Linked DNA regions of Homo sapiens: regions 2, 3, 4, 5 and 6 are each linked to region 1. Evidence: promoter capture Hi-C in 16 types of primary human blood cells and fetal thymus (Javierre and others, 2016). All regions are on one chromosome and are shown on one strand. The core of a region is centred on a gene start or on the middle of the fragment in contact, and the rest is flanking DNA. Distances in the headings are between cores, read along the strand shown. Region 1 holds the start of ABCD2 (ATP binding cassette subfamily D member 2). Region 2 has its middle 19 kb from the start of SLC2A13. Region 3 overlaps SLC2A13 (solute carrier family 2 member 13). Region 4 overlaps SLC2A13 (solute carrier family 2 member 13). Region 5 holds the start of LOC101927019 (a long non-coding RNA gene). Region 6 overlaps KIF21A (kinesin family member 21A).

What was found. The method cuts DNA at HindIII sites, captures the fragments that hold promoters and counts their contacts. A CHiCAGO score of 5 or more calls a contact.
Region 2: a fragment that was not itself captured here is called in contact with the fragment with the promoter of ABCD2 in region 1 in 2 of 17 cell types (naive CD4 T cells and activated CD4 T cells); the score reaches 6.2 in naive CD4 T cells.
Region 3: a fragment that was not itself captured here is called in contact with the fragment with the promoter of ABCD2 in region 1 in 4 of 17 cell types (naive CD4 T cells, total CD4 T cells, total CD8 T cells and 1 more); the score reaches 7.3 in naive CD4 T cells.
Region 4: a fragment that was not itself captured here is called in contact with the fragment with the promoter of ABCD2 in region 1 in 4 of 17 cell types (naive CD4 T cells, total CD4 T cells, total CD8 T cells and 1 more); the score reaches 7.1 in naive CD4 T cells.
Region 5: a contact is called between a fragment that was not itself captured here and the fragment with the promoter of ABCD2 in region 1, in 5 of 17 cell types (naive CD4 T cells, total CD8 T cells, non-activated CD4 T cells and 2 more). The highest score is 10.8, in naive CD4 T cells.
Region 6: a fragment that was not itself captured here is called in contact with the fragment with the promoter of ABCD2 in region 1 in 1 of 17 cell types (total CD4 T cells); the score reaches 5.2 in total CD4 T cells.

What each region holds. Positions count from the first base shown.
Region 1 is chr12:39,618,206-39,621,814 of GRCh38, reverse strand. It overlaps ABCD2 (ATP binding cassette subfamily D member 2), which reads left to right and starts at 2,012. Exons shown (of 10, transcript NM_005164.4): 1 at 2,012-3,138. The coding sequence starts at 2,200. RefSeq lists enhancers at 392-471, 1,701-2,220, 2,531-2,610. The HindIII fragment of the contact is 3,952 bases long and covers 731-3,609 here.
Region 2 is chr12:40,123,628-40,127,236 of GRCh38, reverse strand. No RefSeq gene overlaps it. Among named protein-coding and RNA genes, the nearest start is that of SLC2A13, 19 kb to the right of the region's middle. The HindIII fragment of the contact is 3,304 bases long and covers 1-3,220 here.
Region 3 is chr12:40,006,517-40,010,125 of GRCh38, reverse strand. The region is part of intron 3 of SLC2A13 (solute carrier family 2 member 13); the gene reads left to right. Among named protein-coding and RNA genes, the nearest start is that of SLC2A13, 98 kb to the left of the region's middle. The HindIII fragment of the contact is 1,099 bases long and covers 1,393-2,491 here.
Region 4 is chr12:39,988,307-39,991,915 of GRCh38, reverse strand. The region is part of intron 3 of SLC2A13 (solute carrier family 2 member 13); the gene reads left to right. Among named protein-coding and RNA genes, the nearest start is that of SLC2A13, 120 kb to the left of the region's middle. The HindIII fragment of the contact is 2,487 bases long and covers 639-3,125 here.
Region 5 is chr12:39,314,872-39,318,480 of GRCh38, reverse strand. It overlaps KIF21A (kinesin family member 21A), which reads left to right. Exons shown (of 38, transcript NM_001173464.2): 29 at 280-408; 30 at 2,511-2,549; 31 at 3,241-3,252. It overlaps LOC101927019 (a long non-coding RNA gene), which reads right to left and starts at 2,549. Exons shown (of 3, transcript XR_007063276.1): 1 at 2,461-2,549. The HindIII fragment of the contact is 3,608 bases long and covers 192-3,609 here.
Region 6 is chr12:39,334,045-39,337,653 of GRCh38, reverse strand. KIF21A (kinesin family member 21A) reads left to right here. Exons shown (of 38, transcript NM_001173464.2): 17 at 451-558. Among named protein-coding and RNA genes, the nearest start is that of KIF21A, 110 kb to the left of the region's middle. The HindIII fragment of the contact is 4,632 bases long and covers 1-3,609 here.

The DNA.
Region 1 (3,609 bases), core at 763-3,262:
GTTTTGAAGTATTTTCAACCACTTTAAAAATGTAAAAATCATTCCTAGCTTAAGGGTCATATAAAATTAAGTGGCAGGCTAGATTTGGCCCACCAGTTGTAATTTGCCAACTTCTGTTCTAGCTTGATGCATATTTTCCTAAGCTTTTAATTGACTGGAAATGTGTATGTATGTTGGGGGCCAGCTGCTGGTGAACAAAACTGGCTGTAGCTACTGAGCATACTCAGTGTCACTTAGAAATCCCCAGAAGTTTCAGAATATATATCACTTTTGTAAGATTTCAGTAGATACCACAAGCAGAAGAGCAAGCAGAAAGGGAGATTTCCGAGAATTTTAATGAGATGGGGGGCGGGGACAGTGAAGAGCAAAAAAAATGGTTTTTCCATATCCAAAAATATACTCAGCCCTGACTTAAAAAATGCTCTTGGCTGGGCGTGGTGGCCCACGTCTATAATCCGAGCACTTTGGGAGGCTAAGGCAGGTGGATCACTTGAGGCCAGGAGGTTGAGACCAGCCTGGCAAACATGGCAAAACCCATCTCTACTAAAACTACAGAAATTAGCCAAGTATGGTAGGCGCACCCTCGTAATCCCAGCTACTCGGGCTGCTGAGGCACCAACCTGGGAGGCGGAGGCTGCAGTGAGCTGAGATCGTGCCACTGCACTCCAGCCTGGGTGACAGAGAGAGACTCTGTCTCATAAAAAAAAAAAAAAAAAAAAAAAAAAAAGCTTTTTACATTTTCAAAAATATGCAGAATTGTCCTTGACTGTTGAACAATTTAAATCCTCCATTATGGATGTGAAGAATTTTAAGACTCTTAGTTTTTATCAAATAACCAAATGGAAATAGGAAGTAGCCAGTAGATTATCTCTACAGCTAAACAAAACAAACAAAGCAGAAACCTGCAAAAGACAAAGCATTCTTGAAAAATGAAGTAAGGTCCTAGAGAAGCTATTTCCACCATCCAACACCAGCTGAATTCCCAAATGGTTAAACTTTCACTATAAGTGCTACCCCACTCCAAGTAAAAACTACCTAACACATGGGAGTAGTAAACATGAAACATTGCTCTCATTTATTTAATAGTCGTCACCTTGTAAATAAATATGAGTACATCAGATCTCCAGTTATGGGGCTGGAAGATTTTTAGCATAAGGACAAGTAGGATGCAGAGGAAAAAGGGAGAATGGCTAGAGGCATAGCAAATAATTATTTTCTGTAACACGGAAGACTTTTATCCTATTTATTTACAAGGGAAACCCTCGATTACAACTTGTCTATTAGGTTCTGAGACCTTTTGTGAAATCAGACCCCCAAAAAAGCCGGGGGGATCTGTGAAAAACAGATCCAAGTGTATTTGATATTTGGCATTCTCCGGTGTCCCTCCCACTTGTCACTTTCTTTTCTGATCCGTTTCAGATTCATTCCATATCCTTTTCATATTCATTTTATGTTGATCCTCTTGTCCCTCCTCCCTCATTTTCGTGGTTCCTTCTCCCTCCTCGTCTCATTAAAACTCTTGCAAATCTCCCTTTCTGCTTGCTCTTCTGTTTGCGGTAGCTGCTGAAATCTTACCGAAGTGATGTATATTCTGAAACTTCTGCGGGTTTCTAAGTGACATTGAGCATGCTCAGTAGCTAGGGCCGGTTTTGTTCGCTTGGAAATCTCCCTTTCTGCTTGCTCTTCTGTTTGCGGTATCTACTGAAATCTTACCGAAGTGATGTATATTCTGAAACTTCTGTGGGTTTCTAAGTGACACTGAGCATGCTCAGTAGCTAGAGCCGGTTTTGTTCGCCAGCAGATGGCCTGATTCGACCTCTCCAAAAATAGACATTTTAACTCTCTGAACTCCTGTTTAAGGAAGGATGTAATTCGCTTTGCTCTCTCCTCATTTTCAAGGTTCAAAGGGAAGCTGCGAGGATTCCAAGGTCCCACCGCCCTCACAGCCAATGAGGGGCCTGGGAGGGAGGAGCTTGGTGCAGCTTGAGCTTCTGAGAGAATCATTCCCGGTAGATGCAGCGGAGTCTGAGCTCTGCTGCATCTGTCACAGCAGAACAAAATTAAAAACACAACAGTGGAAGAGAAACGCTGCAGACTATGGGACGCTGTAGGACTTTCTAAAACATTTGCTGGGGATTTCTGTGAAGCATGATCTTTTAAAACGAATTCTTTTGGAAGCCGGTTTGGGTAACTGGGAAAATGACACATATGCTAAATGCAGCAGCTGATCGAGTGAAATGGACCAGATCGAGTGCTGCTAAGAGGGCTGCCTGCCTGGTGGCTGCGGCATATGCTCTGAAAACCCTCTATCCCATCATTGGCAAGCGTTTAAAGCAATCTGGCCACGGGAAGAAAAAAGCAGCAGCTTACCCTGCTGCAGAGAACACAGAAATACTGCATTGCACCGAGACCATTTGTGAAAAACCTTCGCCTGGAGTGAATGCAGATTTCTTCAAACAGCTACTAGAACTTCGGAAAATTTTGTTTCCAAAACTTGTGACCACTGAAACAGGGTGGCTCTGCCTGCACTCAGTGGCTCTAATCTCAAGAACCTTTCTTTCTATCTATGTGGCTGGTCTGGATGGAAAAATCGTGAAAAGCATTGTGGAAAAGAAGCCTCGGACTTTCATCATCAAATTAATCAAGTGGCTTATGATTGCCATCCCTGCTACCTTCGTCAACAGTGCAATAAGGTACCTGGAATGCAAATTGGCTTTGGCCTTCAGAACTCGCCTAGTAGACCACGCCTATGAAACCTATTTTACAAATCAGACTTATTATAAAGTGATCAATATGGATGGGAGGCTGGCAAACCCTGACCAATCTCTTACGGAGGATATTATGATGTTCTCCCAATCTGTGGCTCACTTGTATTCCAATCTGACCAAACCTATTTTAGATGTAATGCTGACCTCCTATACACTCATTCAAACTGCTACATCCAGAGGAGCAAGCCCAATTGGGCCCACCCTACTAGCAGGACTTGTGGTGTATGCCACTGCTAAAGTGTTAAAAGCCTGTTCTCCCAAATTTGGCAAACTGGTGGCAGAGGAAGCACATAGAAAAGGCTATTTGCGGTATGTGCACTCGAGAATTATAGCCAATGTAGAAGAAATTGCCTTTTACAGAGGACATAAGGTAAGATAGAAATTAAGGTGATGGGTGAAATGTGAAACTGTTCAAGTTGCCACTGCAGTGCCAGATACCATCTGTTGTCCTGTCGATGGACCCACTTCTTTAGTGTCTTAGATTCCTCTGACATCTAAACCTGAATTAAAATATATGCTTCATTACCCCTTTTAACTGTAACCAGTTAAAGGATTATAGGGTGCAAACTTTTCTAAAGTTTCAGAAGAATAAAATTTGCAACACTCTAAAAAAGTCTACTTAGCCTCAGTTACTCAAATATGCTCAGAATTATTTCTAACGCATTTTCTTAAAACTTAAATCCCAACTTGGTAGGTCATCCTAAAGCACCTACCAGAAGAAAATATATATTTAGAAACTAAGACTAAACATATTTCCACTGAAATGGAAAATTTAGAATGATATTCTTTGTTGTTCCTTTGTTGTCCAAGAGGGGGGAAGAGCCAGGGTTTCTTATAGAAG
Region 2 (3,609 bases), core at 319-2,818, 510 kb before region 1:
GCTTACTTCCAGCTGAAGTCAATATTATTAGCAACATTTTTATTACTTTATGAACTTGAATATATATTTGGTATAAAAGACCTGCAAATAACAAAGTTGTTTACCCAGGAGTTTATAGATAATTAACCCTTAGTTTGTAGGGTTTTTAAAAAACTAATATTTTATTTTCAACTTTGGCTAAGAAAGACTGCATGAACATTTATAACATCAAACTGACCACTACAAGGTATTGTGAAAAGTTAGGCCATTTTAAATGAAAAGATACTAAGAAATGGAAGCATTATATATTAGGCTTTTAAACATTGCATAAGGGATCATAAATTAAAAGAGTTTGTTGGTAAAATAAAGGTGGAAGGTCAAAGAATCTCCAAAGTCCCCTCAAAGGTATGTTTCTTTGAGTAACAGGAAAAGACTACATGAGGAAATTCAGAAGCAGAAATAAATAGTGGAATTTTAAAAAATTATAAAGTAATCTTGAAAAATACATAACTATAATGGCATGGTGGGCTACAGTTGGCATGAGAGGTAAGTGGTGAAAACAATGGTCTGTTTGTAGGAATGAGAAAAAAACTTGCCTTAGGGAACTTGTGGAACAAAGGAACAAATGTAAGAATATGTATGCAAAATTACCTATGGGTGGAATGTTCATTAGATAAATTATTTTAGAAGCAGGCCTTGAAAGCTCCCAGAGAAGCTGGTGATAGCAGAATTAACAGTAAAAATCGAAATTACATGAGTTGTTTTTGAAATTAAAAAATGAATAATAATTATTATTACACTGTAGCAATTAAAAGTGCTAGCAAGAGCAGAGATGCAATATATTGAAGACTAAATTAATGATTTAGTATCATATTCTAGAGTTCAAAAGATTAAGAGAAGAGAGGAAAACATCAAACAGGTTCAACAAAAAACTTATTAAAAGTTCATAAGACTCTAGAGATCTCACCCCTGCTATTTTTCCAAAAGCATCTCACTCTCCATCACCTTCCTTCCCCTAGCAGGGTGCCTCGTGTTCTGGTCACAGCTAATTTTCACATTTTTGTTGTCGTTGTTGAGACGGGGTCTCCCTATGTTCCCCAGGCTGGTCTCAAATCCCTGTGCTCAAGTGATCCTCCCGTCTGGGCCTCCCAAAGTGCTGGTATTATAGGCATGAGCCACCGCACCCAGCCTATTTTATTTCTTAAGACTAGAAATTAATTCCAAACCAAAAGAAAAGCTCTATGCGGGAAGGGACTGTGTCTCTCCTGCTCACTGCTGTGATCACAAGACCTACTATCGTACTTGGCATGCAGTAGGTACAAAATAAAGAATGGTTAAGTTGGGCATGGTGGCTCATACATGTAATCCCAGCACTTTGGGAGACCCAGACAGGAGGATGGCTTGAGGCTAGGAGTTTGAGACCACCCTGGTCAACATAGCAAGACCTCTGTCTCATAAAATTAAAAAATTAAAAAAAATAGCTGGATGTGGTGGCATGTGCCTGGAGTCTCAAGTACTAGGGATACTGAGGCAAGAGGATTACTTGAGCCCAGGAGTTAGAGGATGCAGTGAGCTACGATTGTGCCACTGCACACTAGCCTGGGCAACAGAACAAGACCTTGTATCTATTTAAATAAATACATAAAAAAGAATGGTTAAATGAATGAGTTAATAGATTAATAAGCAAATAGTTAATAAGCAAGTTATTAATAAGCAAAACCATGAAAATTACATGATGTAAACTATAACGGAGTAGGTAGACAAACATTTCTTCTAAGGCTGCCTTTTGCAAACATAGTATGTTTCCCCAGTCTCTTTGTGAAATTCTGGTGCCACTATGACCAAAAGCCCCTGGCATATCTGCTAGGAATCAAGGACAACAGTCAGTGGTGGACCCAGAGGCTAAATAGCCAAAAGTCTCTGAGAATTGTGTACAAGAACCAATGGTCCTCATGCTGGGATTAATTGTGTACAAGGACTGGAGAACATTTCTATTTAAGAAAAGCAAGCAAATTTGTTCAACTGCTACTTCCTAGCGAGTAACTATGGAGAACATACTTTATTCCAAGCACTAAACCAAGTCCATAGAAGGTAATGAGGAATATAATGATATAATGTAATGTCTGCTTTCATGAAACTCAGAGTCTAATAAAAGAAACACACATATACATATACAGTTTTCTTCAACCTTGAGAATTATGTTCTTGAAAACTCAATGACAGGATAATTTGTAGGTTAAAAACAAAGGAATTTAAGAGACAATAGAAATGTGGCACAAAGTTCATAATGAAAACAGGAAGGTCTTATTATATGTGAGATATTTATACCTTTAAGAACAGTTTTTCATGACAAAAGAATCATTTCCTATGATATTAAAACTTGAAATTCAGTTTATTAAGGCTCTTCTTTAAAGTTTTATGTTCAACAGACAAATATATTCTACTTTGCATTTTAGCAGTTTATTTAATTTTAATTAAATTTTTTTTTTTTTTGAGATGGAGTCTCACTCTGTTGCCAGGCTGGAGTGCAGTGGCATGATCTTGGCTCATTGCAGCCTCAGTCTTCCAGGTTCAAGCAATTCTCCTGCCTCAGCCTACCGAGTAGCTGGGACTACAGGTGCACACCGCCACACCCGGCTAATTTTTTTTTTTTTTTGTATTTTAGTAGAGACGGGTTTTCACCATGTTGCGCAGGCTGGTCTCAAGCTCCTGAGCTCAGGCAATCCACCAGCCTCGGCCTCCCAAAGTGCTAGGATTACAGGCTTGAGCCACCGTGCCCAGCCAATTTTAATTTTTGAGACAGGGTCTTGTTCTGTTTCCCAGACTGGAGTGCAGTGATGCAATTATGGCTCACTGCAGCCTTGAACTCATGGGCTCAAGGGATCCTCCTGCCTCAGTCTCCTGACTAGCTGGAACTAGAGGCATGCGCATGACAACCAGATAATTTATTTTATTTTTTTGTAGAAATGGGGTCTCATTATGTTGACCAGGGTGATCTCAAACTCCAGGCCTCTAGTGATCCTCCTGTCTGGGCTTCCCAAAGTGCTGGGATTATAGGCGTGAGCCACTGTGCAGAGCCAAAATTTTAGCAGTTTCTGAATAATGTTTGATAGGTTCCATTCAATATGTTAAAATATTTTTAAGCTATACTTACAAAATATTCAATTTCCTTCTTTAATACTTCACTTGTATACCTTAAAATCCTCTCGAATATAAAATTAGTTCTTAAAAGATGATAAGCTTTTAAATAATTTGATTCCTAAGTTCTCTTAAATATTTTAATAGATACCCTTAATAAAGGCTTGACTTAAAGTCTAAATCAATAACAAAATAAATCATTTTAAATTAGAATTAAATGTTTTATATGTTTCTCTAAAAAGCCGATTTTCTTTTTTATTTCAAGGACATTCCAAATATGCTCAGATTCCATAACATAGAAATATTAATATAATAATTCTGATTTTCTTTAACAGTTCTGTACTTAATTCTAAATATTCTAATAGTTAGAGGATGCTTACTTAGTAAGGAAATAATTACATCATCTTAAGACAATTTCAGCATCTCTTTCCCAACACTTGAGCTTTCACAACCAGAGCTTTTGGCTCTTTTGGATTCTTATTAGGGGCTCATG
Region 3 (3,609 bases), core at 693-3,192, 390 kb before region 1:
TACTGAAATGTTTAAGAACTGTGCTTCCTTTTCAGTGCATATGTTTTCTTGAGTTGCCATGTGCCTGTATAGATTAGCGGCATCTGGGATTTTTACCACGTCACATTCTTTTAGAATTGAAGAAGTATAAATATTACCAGAATTGTAGTCAAATAATTTCAAGTTTTTTATAGAAAATATGACAAATAACCTAATGTATAAGGAAACAAAAGTTTCTGCAATTCCATCACTGTTTCTAATAGAAAATTATGAATGAGACATTAATTGTCAGTCTGCCTCTTCTTCAGATGGCTTTTGACTTAGTATTATTTTGTTTTAGGACCCATGTCTCTACATTGGACTTTAGAGCAGAGTTCTGGCCTCTTATCTTGAGCTTGTTAAAAGAAACTGTCGCCAGGCATGATGGCTCATGCCTGTAATCCTAGCACTTTTGGGGAGGCCAAAGCTCGAGGATTGCTTGAGCTCAGGAGTTCAAGACCAGCCTGGGCAACATAGTGAGACCTTGTCTCTGTAAAAGTTTTTTAAAAAATTGGCTGGGTGTGGTGGCACATGCCTGAAGCCCCAGATACTCGGGTGGCTGAAGTGGGACAATTGCTTGAGCCCAGGGAGTCAAGGCTGTAGTGAGCCATGACCATTGCCACTGTACTCCAGCCTAGGTGACAGAATAAGACCCAGTCTCAAAAAACAAAAACAAACAAACAAAAAAACCTTAATGTTCTATTTCCTATTAATAGTCACAATATTATAGATATTATCTAACAGTTTAAAGCCATAAACATTCTATTTGGCTAGTAAAATGTTTTCATCATTTATGATCAAAGATTTCAGGCATTTTTCTTCTTTAATTAGTTTAAGTTAACAATAAATAAATTCAGCCTCCCTTTGGAGGGTTAGAACAGGACAGATAAAGCTAAATTCCTCTTTGCCCATCACATCGATCCCACGCATTTTATACCTCTCTGCTCCACTGCTGGCCATAACAGATTTGGGGAATATTCTTCCAGACACACACACACAAACACACCTAGAGAATTTTTATGGTAATAGTATCATAATGCATGTATTATTAAGTTACTTGTTTGCTTTCTTTCAAGTTGAGTTGATTTGAGTCAGATCTTATATAAATCTAGTCCATCCCTTTAAACTTCTCTGTGATATTCCAGATATGGAATGTCACATTCTGTTTATGTGTTCTTTTATTAATAGGCATTACATTTGGGGGTATCATAAACAGTGCTGTAATGAACATCCTTGTATATGTTTTCTTGAGCACATGTATGTGTGTTTCTCTAGGGTAGATATCTAGAAGTAGAATTGTGCACAACCATTTATCTCATGGTGTTATAGTGTTATTTTAGTTCATTTGTTTCCATGGTAATTTCTTTCTAAGCTTCAAAGTATATTGGCTGGAAGTCATCGAATCACAACCTTTTAGAAATCAAAGCTCAGGTATCATCTTACAATATGAAGGATTAGTTTAATTGTTTCTCCATATTCTTTTTTTTTTTTTTTGGAGTGACGCAGTCTCGCTCTGTCGCCCAGGCTGGAGTGTAGTGGTGAAACCTCTGCTCACAGCGAGCTCCGCCTCCTGGGTTCAAGCCATTCTCCCACCTCAGCCTCTCGAGTAGCTGGGACTACAGGTGCCCACCACCATGTCTGGCTAATGTTGTTTTTGTATTTTCAGTAGAGACGGGGTTTCATCATGTTAGCCAGGATGGTCTCGATCTGTTGACTTCATGATCCGCCTGCCTTGGCCTTCCAAAGTGCTGGGATTACAGGCATGAGCCACTGTGCCCAGCCAATTGTTTCTCCATACTCTTAACATTTGGTATCTTGACCCTGGAGCTTCCTGTCATCACCACCACCCTGCTGCTTTTTATGCCTTAGTAAAATCTTTTTGGCTTCTCTGTTCTACTTTTATTAACAGAATTTCAGATAAGAGAATGTTGTTATAAGGAATCATTTTAGCAGGTGTGTTACTATATTTAGTCTAAAATTTTAAAAAATCTGGATAGGTTTTTTAAAAAAAATCCTTAAATGTTTTGAGATGCTGATTAGTTCAGAATTATACATATGTTGGTTTAAACTAGTTGAATCTTTTGATGCTGTTTAATTACCTCAGACTCTACCTCAGAAGTAGAAAGTGCTTATATTTTAAATCTGGGTTTTCCCGTAAAACCCATTGTATATTATAAAAGTAATATAGATAAGGCGTTTTTCCATGTATGGAATCTTTAAGGCTGGTAAACGATATCTTCCTTCTTTGAATAGTGTTTCTTCCTTTGAATAATTATGCTACCACTCATATTTAATGGCTTCTATGTGTGAGGTATTGTGCCATATTTTTTTCTTTTAATTCTTACAGCAAGCCAAATAACTAAAATGTGAACTATTATCATTTTATAGTTGTAAAAATTGATAGAGAAGTTAACAATCTTGCCCAAGTTTACCCTGTTAGGAAATAGAAGAACTAAGAATTCAAAACAAAGCTTATCTTATTAGAACAGTATACACTCTTCAATGTACTATATAAGGATACCCTTTTCCATCATCATTTAAAAACTATGTGAGTCTAGTTCTGGGATTATGCTTAATTTTAAAATAGTAATGACCTTTTTTTAAAAAAAAGTTTTAAAGTTGTTTTCAGCAGCAATTGTAAATAAAATAGTTTGGTGGACAGTCAATTAATTTTGTGTGGCTTTTTTTTGGATAGCAAAAAAGAACTTATGAAGTTTTAGAATATTTATACTATTCTTGAACTATTTACTGATTCTTCTTTCATATACTTACTAGACCGTGTGCTTAAAATTTTGAATCTTTAAAAGTAATGCAAGTTTTTTATAGAAAATATGACAAATAACCTAATGTATAAGGAAACAAAAGTTTCTGCAATTCCATCACTGTTTCTAATAGAAAATTATGAATGAGTTCCCTTCTCGCAGCATCTATGTGCCCACTTCACATTGGGCACTTCTCTCAGCCACAGAGCAAAGGTGGGAGGGGCTCATTAGTTTCAAGAAATTCTTATACTGGGTCAACTTTAGTAAGAAAGAAAGAAACGAAAGTTGAACACACATGACTGTTAGCTAATTAAAAGATGTGGCTCATCTTCTTTATAAATAAATAAACTGATTAGTGACCCATTGCTGGAAACTGGAAGAATCAGAAGTAAGTGTGCATCTGCTAGCATTACAAATACTCAAATGGGAATTTCTTTATATTATTAATGATTAAATTTATGAAGGAATTAAAAATATGATCTTGGCAGCAGAGAGTATGAATTTGTTATGTGTATTTGAGATCTGTCTAGCCGACACTGTAGACATGGGTTTATTCTTGTAAACCACTTTTTCTCCAGAGAGACTTGAGTGAACAGGTGGGATTGCTTCCATTGATAGGAGGATAAGGGAAGTGAGTACAATGTTTATATCTAACTGTACTTGCTTCCTGCACTTCTGATATGGAGACCTTCACCTAAATCTTTACTACTGTTATTGTCTTAATACCTCTTTTTCTTTGCTTAGACTATTAGAAAGAAATTTTACCTGACTCTTAGAATTTATTCATTATTTTGTTACTATATTTTCATTTTAACATAATTTTCTTACT
Region 4 (3,609 bases), core at 633-3,132, 370 kb before region 1:
CAAATCAGGATGTGTGAGCTATAAGGGCAGGATGGGTGAGCTATAAAAGCTTTTGATTTTACATCAGAAACAAAATAACTCAACTACCATCACCGTTTCATTTTTTTTTAAAAAGATAGTAGAATATAATCTTGAAATGAAGGACAATACTTTCAAACAAAGAATATTAGGCAACTTCATACTGACACACAAGAAAAAATAATAGGATGGTGAGTGGGACATATTTTTATTGCCCTGAATTGATGCTGTGGATGGGTGGGGGTCCAAAGCAGCAGAGGACAAAGGGGCTGGTAAGTAGCCTGTATTCTAAAGAGAGCACCCATGTGGGAAGAGAGGGGTCTTCCTCACATCCCAAACCAACCAATACAGATCAAGAAAATCATTGGTAAACATGAGAGGGACCTGCTTGACTGGGAGAGGCTAACATCCCATTGCCTAGCTAGACATGCACTTATGAGGCGTCCTTGCTAATCTGCCTCCTGTGTCTACTTAAGTAGGAACACTGGAGCATGATGGCAGCAGGGGAGTGGGGTGAACACGGAAGATGATGGGAGCAGAGCACTGGAGTGGCCTGAAAAACTATCATGTGGTAGGGCTACGATGTCACTTGGAGCCCATTTGAGATGAAGGAAAAAGCTTTAACCCAGATATAAGATTGAAGTTTTAAAGCAAATGGACTTACACAAATTGAGGAAAAGGATTTGAGAACTCTGCTATCTATGAGAAACTGTGGGCAGTTCTACAAAGCACTGCTGTGTGAAGTAAGTAGAGAAAAACACAGTCTTTCATGGTTGAACTCCGTGAAGTTAAGACTGTATAAGGAACAAGATAACTGTCTGCAAATCAGAGGAAACTTCTCTGTGGACCAGTACAGGCTCACAGATTGATTTTTAGGAAAGACCTAATCTGGTCCAAGCCTTCACTTTACAGGAGGAAAATCAGTGTTTGGCACACACTTCAGGGGGAGAGAGAGAGCTCCGTTGATGAAAAAAGGAGACTTGAACCTTGAAGCCTAGGTTTGAGAATCGAATACAATTGAGACTAATTTGAGTATGTGTTTGTGTGAGTTTGGAGGTTTGAAAAGCTCTGATTAGAGCTTTTGTTGTAGAGAGAGTTGGCATTGCTTAAAGTTTCTAAACTGTGATCATATAATGCATACATAAAGTATGGATATTAATATATTGAAGTGTCCCAAGCACAGCTGCCACTAGGGGGCAATGGAGGCCCCCCACAGTGTCACAACCACCTAGTCGTAGCCCTAGAACCAGGGTTGCAAGAAAATCCCTTTGCCTGCTTTTGCCCTGTTTCCTTCAGCACTGTTCAGCACTATGGGTGAATAGAGCACCCATTCCCCAGATTTTGTGCTTCCCTGGTGTGTGCTGAGATACTATCCCCAGAATACAGTACAGCCAGAAATCCAAGTGTGGGCACATCCTTCTTGTACTTTTGATAATGTTGTTAAGTAGAAGAACTCTTACTCAGAGGAGAATGCACTGCTGGAACATGTGTTAGAAGTTAAAGTCCACACTCCCCATGTAAAATATGTATTTATCTCTCATGTGAATGTTATTCATTCAATCATTGAGCATTTATTGAGTACTCTGTGTGCTTGGCCCTCTTCTGTCCTCAGGGATATTGTGAAGAGATAGAGACATTCCTGCTCTGTTAGAAGGAACTCACTTTCCAGTGGGAGGAAGATGAGAAATAAAGAAGTAAATAAATATGTGTAAGACTACTTTATATAATAAAAGGAACTAATATTTGATCGTTATGACTCCAGAATACATGGCCATAGGTGTTACTAGAGTAGACATAGAACAATAGAACTGTATATAAAAGGAAGGAGTCCTAGACTTGGAATAATATTTTCTCCTCACTGGCTTCCTGTTAAAAATTAGAGCTATAGTCCTATCAGAGAAAACTCCAGGAGAATAAAATTGTGATTTTGTGGCCAAAAAACCCAAGTGTGGATGCAACCATAAACCGATCACTAAGAACACATTTACATTATTTAGGAGCTTGATGTATTTTACAGTAATTTCTCATCTGTAAAATTTCCTGACAGCAGTGGCAATTTTCTTTTTGTTTACCCAAACCTTGATCCTCTTCTGGATCATGGGGATTAATTTCTTTACTGGGGATTCTCTCAACTAGAACATTAAAAGTCTGCTTCCCTACAGTGTATTCTTATGCAAGACTTTGTGGAAAAAAAGTTGTGCATATGGCGATGATATTTTTAGCCCTTTCCATGTCAGTCAAGCCTGAATCTTCTTTTAAGACCTAGTTTCAGTGTCATTGGTTGTGTGTGTCTTCTTCCCTGGCATTCTCCATAACCCAGCCAGAGCAAGACATCCATTTTTGATTATTCATTCACTCAGAAAATGAATACCTGTTACATGCCAGGCACCATTGGGGGCACTGAAGATTTGGCAGTGATGAATGAAAGGAAGCCTGCCTTAAAGTTTTATTTCTAGTGGGGAGGGGTGACCAAGGAACACATAAACATATGAAGGTGGTAATAAATGTTAACAGATAATGGTGATAAAAGGTAAAATTTAATGAGCAGATTGATAAAGGATGGTTGAGGATATTGAGGCAAGAGGGTTGCACCTTTTTATAGGTTGGTCCAGGAAAGTCAGAGAGGTGGCATGTATTCAAAAGACTAAAATACGTGAGGAGAGTGAGCCATGTGGCTATCTGAGTCTGTGTGGGTAAAGCAGAATTGGCATGGAGAGTTTCAGGGGGTAAGGGCAGAAGACCAGATTATGTAGGGACTGTGAGGATTTAGGCTTTTATTCAAGAATGAGAAGGGAAGCCACTGAAGGGTTATGAGTAGAGGACTGACACAGCAGACTTAGGTTTACAAAGGCTCATCTGGCTCCTGCGCTCAGAGTACATGGAGTGAGACAATGGTGGAATCTGGCCCCTTAAATTGGAGGCTGTTGGAATAATTTGGGAAAGAGATGCTGGTGGCCTAGGCCTAGGTGATTGCTATGGGGGTTGTGAGAGGAGGCGACGTATAGAGTTAACAATATTTACTGATGCATTGGATGGGGATATTAGAAGAAGAGGAATGAAAGATGACTCAAAGGTTTTTGACTTATATATGATAAAAATCTTAAGCTTTGGTCATAAGCTATGAATTTAACAACTTGGTTTCCTCTTTAGCAGCATTTTCCTCCCCCCCTTCCTTCCTTCCTTCCTTCCTTCCTTCCTTCCTTCCTCCCTCCCTCCCTTCTTCCCTCCCTCCCTCCCTCCTTCCTTTTCTCCCTCTCCTCCCCCTCCTCCTCCTTCCCCTCCTCCTCCTAGTCTTCTTCTTCTTCCTCTTTTTTTCATTCATTCTTTTTCTCTTTCTTTCTTTCCTTTGTTTTCTTTTTTCTTTCTTCTTTCTTTCTTTCGTTCATTCTTTCTTTCTTTTTCTCCTTCCTTCCTTCCTCTTTTTTTAAATATAAAAACAGGCAAGTTTCATGAAAGATAACTCACACAATAAGTAACATATCTGACTAATAGATATATGAAAAGATCTTTATTTTCCACCAGTTAAAGTAATATAAATTAAAACAATGCAATAATTTTTTTCAACAATTATGTTGTTGATGATTAGAATAT
Region 5 (3,609 bases), core at 746-3,245, 300 kb after region 1:
TTGTATAATTTTAAATGTGGCTTGCTTTATTCTTATACTGACTTCTGATTTCAGCAGACAGAATCTTCTCTTTAGTGCCATCTTGTGGCCAATGTAACAAAATCCAGTGAAAAATTTTAAAAATTGTTCAGAATGCATTTTATCTTACAAAAAAGGAAGAAAGGAAAGAAGGAGTTCTCTAATAAAAAGCTTTTTTTTAAAAGAGCATGTTTCTTATAACTTTTCTAACAAATCATAACCAATTAAAGCCACCTACTTAATGTTCTTTTTTTCTTGTAGCTCAGATTCTGGAACTTCAGAGGCTAGTCTTTCACCTCCTTCTTCCCCACCAAGCCGGCCCCGTAATGAACTGAATGTTTTTAATCGTCTTACTGTTTCTCAGGGAAACACATCAGTTCAGCAGGATAAGTAAGTCATTATGGAAAAGAGCCCCAATTATTTATATAATATTCTGAACCTGTCAATACAGTCTGTAGAAAACATGTAGTCATCTCTGTGTAGGAGATGGAGCCTGACGTGTGAACTCTTGCCATATTTTATGCATCTTTCCAATGGGAAAGGAACCATGCAGCCAAAATTAGAGAAAATTATTTTCCTGCTGAACATTATTCCCTGTTGTAGATTTGTATTGGTATGCCTTCAGCACTTGTCTTGCCTTTTCTTTTACAAGTAAATTAGAACTGAAAAATCTTTGAGACCACTTGATGTTTAAATTTTTGGAGATTCTTCAGCTTCTGTGAGCCCACAAAAGCCTCTAATTTAGATAGCCTGAGTTGGAAAGAGGCAAATTACTTTACTTCTGGGGGATATAACAGTTTACAAAGACCATTGTTACAAGTGCAACACGTTTTTGTCATCTGATTGTTCTAGACAAGTTCACCACAAAATTTCAATAATTGTGTTCTTGGAATAAAAAATCACCTTTACGGATGGAGAGAGTAGGACTGGGAGTGGGTTGCAGGGGTGGAGAAGTTGGAGGGATGTGGAAAATGTAAATGTCATCAAATTTGAAATGACAAAGTATCCACACATTGAGCCAGAATCTCTCTTGCAAGAATGCCATACTAACAATACTGCCATAAGGTATTTATTAACTCTGACTTGTCTGCTTGGACTTGGAATGATAATGATTGTTTTCTGCTATTGCCTCCCTGTATAAATCAATAATCTCTAAAATTTATAGGATGCCATTTAAGATCTGTCTGTCTGGCATGTTTAGATCATTTTAAATGGCTCTATAAACTTAGAGAATCATACCGTAGTTTTTAAAGAATTATAAATATACTTAATTTATGGATAATTCTTTTATTTATGGATCCTTCATTAGATTTTAATATGGTTTAATTAGTAGAAGATATGTTCTTTACATTGATCTAGGTAGGTAAATATTTTCCTGTGTTATTAAACAAAATACTCTTTAACATTGTCAAATTATTTCTGTCATTAATTGAGAAAAGTTGAACATTAGGAATACTTTTGGGAAGTCAAGTTTCACTAGGTATACGAAGAGTTGCTAAATTTGTGTCTACCTTGCCTTCACAGTCAGAATATTTTCTGTCAATCTTTTGATAATCTTGACAACCTAATCACAGTTCCATATTTTTTACTGAAATACTTTATGAGCTACCAATAATTTGACTCTGTTGTCATCTCTATAAACTAAAATGTAGAATAACTGACTGCTCTACACTTTCAAAAACTTGACTACCCCTTTACATTACTTTCTCTGGGGCTCCTTTTTGAAGCAACCATATCCCACTAGCAAGACGCAGATCTCCCACATTGTTTCAGGTTACATTCTATGCTAACGCTCACCATATCCTCATTCTCCTCAAGCCTGTTGTACAGTCGAATAGATTTTCTTAATAACCAGACTCACTGCAGTCTTGGAGGCCTCAAGGTAGGGCTAACAGAAGTGACTTGTCCATTCTAAAAGCCCACTAAAGTACCCCAGCTGTTACTCAGATGCTCCCTAGTCAAAAGAACTCAGTGTTTTTGAGATAAGTTAAAGCCAAAAGTTATTAAATTTTGAGTGACTTGCTTTCTATGTGAAAACACAATCTATTTTGTGTAACTTCAACATTAGAGTCTATATCTAAAGTGATAATTATCAAGGTGAATAAAATTGATCAACAGTTATTGAAATGGGAAAATTTTTCCAGGACTAGTCAAATTAAATAGAGCAAACCTTGAAGTGCTATATCTCATGTACTTGATACTATTCTTCTGCAAGGCCTAAATTTTAGAAGTGAGGATAGATTTTGTATATCAGTATTAGAAAATTTTAGCCCCCAAAGTCTTGCTAGAAGACATAAATATCAAACTTTTTACGTAACTTAGCTATACTTTAAACATGCTAATATCCAGTGCAAGTAGAAAAGCAGGGCACTATGAAGGAAATGTTTGCTATATATCTGTTATTCATGCTGTTGATTTTGAGTCCAAAGTCAGTGTCCTTACCTGTTGACATCTGTATTCTTTCTCTCATAATTCTAACTCTTTCACTATAGGTCTGATGAAAGTGACTCCTCTCTCTCGGAGGTACACAGGTACTTTCTTTCCTGCCTTTCCTACATTCTGGAATTTCATTGATGTTCTAAAGTGCCTTCCTAGAAATTCTAAGCAAGTCTCATTTTTGTTGCATGCATCACTTGTTGTAAATCATATAAATGCACTAATATTTCTAAACATGATAATTTTAATACATTTTTGTGGTCATACCTTTTAGATAAAGTAGTGGTTTTTTTTGTATAATAGTTTAAAAATTGTGATACCTGTTTTCTGTCTGTAATCTGAATCTTTTCTTTAAAAGAAATCAAGTTTTATGAATATTGATGTCAAGAAGATTTCTTACTCTCAACAATTAGGTATTTCTAATGCCTCAAAGTGTGTGAGGTAGATAAGGTATTTTTTTCTTGTTGGTTTAGCAATTTTAAGTAAAAAGATTATATGATTAAAAATAAAAATATGCTAGAGAAAAAAAGGATACTATTATACCAAAAATTAAAAAGAATAGGAAATAAACACTAAGGAAGCATTTTTTAAAATAAATATTCTTAAGAATAGGTGCAGCTTTAAAAATAACTGTTATTTTTTTTCATTTTATGGATTTTTCTGGGGGTCCTTAACTTCTCTTTCTCTTTCTCTCTGTCTCATTCCCTTTCACCATTATCATTTTATGTCCTCCCTCTTTGCACTTGTTTTCCTTGTTTTATGGCCATTTTTGCTGATCATCAGCAGATCCTCCAGAAGGTAGGCAGGGGAAGGGAGAGGAAATTAATTTCATTTCCAGTATCAAAAGACCTTACAGGTTTGCATGGAACAAAAATAAGTGTTTATTTTTTTCTCTCCTTCAGATCAAGTCTGTTGTACAAATTTGCCATATTTAACCTTAAACTTGTTTAAAGTTGATTTTATATTTCAAAATGTGAATAGATTAATTCAAATAGAGAAATACCATGGCTGTATGTTTCTAATATCATTAAGTTTCTATTATCTTTGGTAGTTTATATAAAATATTAATCCTAATATTCTGAATATTTAAGAACATTTTAAAGTAATAAAACACTGTGTTTAATATTGAGATTTTTTTTCTCAAAAGACTGAATA
Region 6 (3,609 bases), core at 441-2,940, 280 kb after region 1:
GTGCTTATCAAGTTGTTGAGAATTCAAGTGCCAGGTACTGTTAAAACGCTGTGTGGGTGTTAACTGGTTGAATTCTCACAAAAATCCAATGCTGTGGAAATATTATTTCCATTTTATAGATGAGCAAACCAAAGCCTAGAGAGGTAAAGTAATTCGATCAAGGTCACACAGCTACTGATAGTAAGCTAAGTATCAAGATTTCAAGTTGCAGAACAACTGAATATTGAATACAAAAAGCATAGAATACTAAGCAATTTAATAAAAATGTATTAGAAATAGAAATATATGAATCCCACAGAAATAAGAATTGCCCACTTTAAACGTGCAGCAAAACTGCATGTTTCCATGTTAAGTATTCAGAATTCTAAGAACTTACTTCCATATATGTGGTTGATTTAATGAATGTTGTGACAGAGTAATTTCAATAGATGTCTATACCTAATTGGTTAGGTTCGCCTAATGAAACAAATGAAAGAAGAACAAGAGAAAGCCAGACTGACTGAGTCTAGAAGAAACAGAGAGATTGCTCAGTTGAAAAAGGATCAACGTAAAAGAGATGTAAGTGGATTTTAACTCTCAGTTATATAAGAAAATTGTACGTTGAAAAAGATTGTTTAATAAATGGAGGAAAAATTTCTGGTAACCATAACTACTAATTGCAGGTTAAGGACAATAGATAAGCATACACTTTATAAAATGTCATTTATTACAGTATGTGGATTATGGTAATTCAGTATAAGAGTTCATAAAAAACACTGTAATATTATATATTTTATTTGAGGCTTATTTTCCAGATGATGACATAGAAGTAAATGGCAAGAATGACTGGTTATCTCTAGGATGACCAAGGAACTAGTTGCAGTATTATATAAGATAGCAAGTTTAGGATGGTTCTGAAGAATGTTTTATCACTAGAGGTACTTATAAATAATCCTAGAGTTAACAACCAGCCCTTATTAGAAGAGGCTTTTCTAAGGACTATCAAAATTTTTGTATCCTTTGACTCAAGATTCTACTTCCATGAATTTAGATGAAGAAAATAATGTAAAACAAGTAAAAATACTATGCATCAAAATCTTCACTGTAGGATTCTTTGTAATTGTGAAAAAAGTAAAAACAACCAAGATCCCTGACAGTAGGAGGAATGGTTAAAGAAATTATGGTACATTCCATTTATATTTTGAAACTGTATACTTATCTGAAAAATGACCATGCATTAAGTGTAAAGCATGGTCATTTTACAAATAAATGTATGCTTGATTTCAATGAAGGAAAATTCAAAGGATACATCTCAACGTGCTAATTGTAGTTGTGTTAGGGTTATAAGTTATGGTTGATTATTTTTCTTCTTCTTTCCAAAATTTTGGCAATGTGATTATTTCTTTTAGGTGAAAAATTATAGTTATGATTTTTTTTTTCTTAAAAGAAGAAGCTGGGTGCAGTGGCTCATGCTTGTAATCCCAGCCAGCACTTTGAGAGACTGAGGCCGGAGGATTGCTTTGAGCCCAGGAGTTCTAGACTAGTCTGAACAACAACACAGCAAGACTGCCTCTTTGAAAAAGAAGAGGCCATCACTTTTTCCCTTATTATTGGTTAGGTTTCAGCCATTATTCCTTTTTACTTGCTGAACTTTTCCTAAATCCTCCCTGGAAAAATACGAGCATAAAGCATATTTTAGAAAATGGAAATTTATTTTGGAATGTAAAGAGGAAAGGGGATAGAGAAAAGGGGGGTAGTGAGGTAGAAAAGTGGATAGCGGATATTTTGTCCAGATGACTCCCCTATTTTGGTTATGTTTATTTCTTTTTTTCTCCTACAATGTCAGTGTATTTTAATAATCAGTGTATTTGTCACAGTTAATTCCTGGGCATTTAAAATTGTGTTTTTATCGATTTGTTCCTACTGAAATCAAGTAGAAGCACATTCTAACATATTGCCTATTCTTTTTTTGTTATTGTTTTAAAAGTTGAGATATAATTAACTTATCCTAAAATTTACCTTTTAAAGTGTACAATTCATGTTTTTAGTATATTCACAAAAGTGTGCAATGATCACCACCATCTAATTACAGAAAATTTTCATTACTCCAGGAATATACGCTATACCCATTGGTAGTCACTCACCATTGCCCCGGCCCCTGGCAGCCACTAATCTACATTTTGTCCCTGTGGACATTGCATATAAATTGAATCATACCAGATGTGGCCTTTTGTGTCTTGATTTTTTTTTTTTTTTTTTTTTTTGAGACAGAGTCTTACTTTGTCGCCCAGGCTGGAGTGCAATGCATGATCTTGGCTCACTCTAACCTCCGCCTCCCAGGTCCAAGCCATTCTCCTGCCTCAGCCTCCTGAGCAGCTGGGACTACAGGCATGCACCACCACACCTGGCTAATTTTTGTATTTTTAGTAGAGATGGGTTTTCACCATGTTGGCCAGGCTGGTGTCAAACTCCTGACCTCAAGTGATCCGCCCCGCCTCGGCCTCCCAAAGGTGTGAGCCACTGCACCCAGCTGTGTCTGGCTTCTTTTATTTAACACGATGTTTTCAAGGTTCAGCCATGTTATAACATGTATCAGCACTTCATTCTTTTTTTATGGTTATATAGATAGAATATGTTTTGTTTGTCCATTCATCAGTTGATAGACGTTTGGGTTCTTTCCATTTTTTGGCTGTTTATTTTATATTTAATGAAAACCTTTGAACAACGGGAATAATTTCTTTACAGTGTATGCTACCTATTTCTTTATTACTAATTCATATAAGATAAGGGAGACCAATACTGAACTCCTGGGATGAACTTTTTGAATCTTTTCCATAACATGTGATGCCTATATTCTATTATAAAGACACAATGCTGGCTAGTCACATATAAAGCTAACATTCATACTCCCTCTCCCTTTTATTTGTTGCCTTGTGTACATATTGACCTCCTTTTAAAATTGTTCCTTGTTATATTCATCTTTGAACCCTTAGAAAGTTCAGGGTGACATTTATATACCATATAAAAATATGAATGAGCTTGAGATTTGGTTTTTAATAGGAAGAAATTTAATGTAACAAGTTTGAAACTATATGATAATTTTAATTTCTGATAATTCATTAATTAAAAAACATATTAATTTTGCTTTTATATCAGTCACTGTGGTAGGCAATTAAGATATGGCTGTGATAAGATAAAGTCATTTTCTCAAGGAATTCCCATCTGATGAGACAGAAATATACATAAACATAAAATGAATGATCTGTTTGAATTTGAATGCAAAACACGAGTGATTATTTGTTAAATAACAGAATTTAAGTACTAGAAAGGAAGTTTGTAGTGAACTGTCATTCTTAAACTTTGTCCAAGATCACAGAATTGAATAAATGATAGAACTGGAATTAAGACCTAAGTTCTTTCTTTTTTCTTTTGTTTTCTTTTCTTTCTTTCTTTCTTTTTTTTTTTTTTTTTTTTGAGATGGAGTCTCACTGTGTCCTCCAGGCTGGTGTGCAGTGGCACAGTCTTGGCTCACTGCAGCCTCTGCCTCCTGGGTTCAAGCGATTCTCCCACCTCAGCCTCCCGAGTAGCTGAGATTGGAGGCACGTGCCACCATGCCTGGCTAATTTTGTA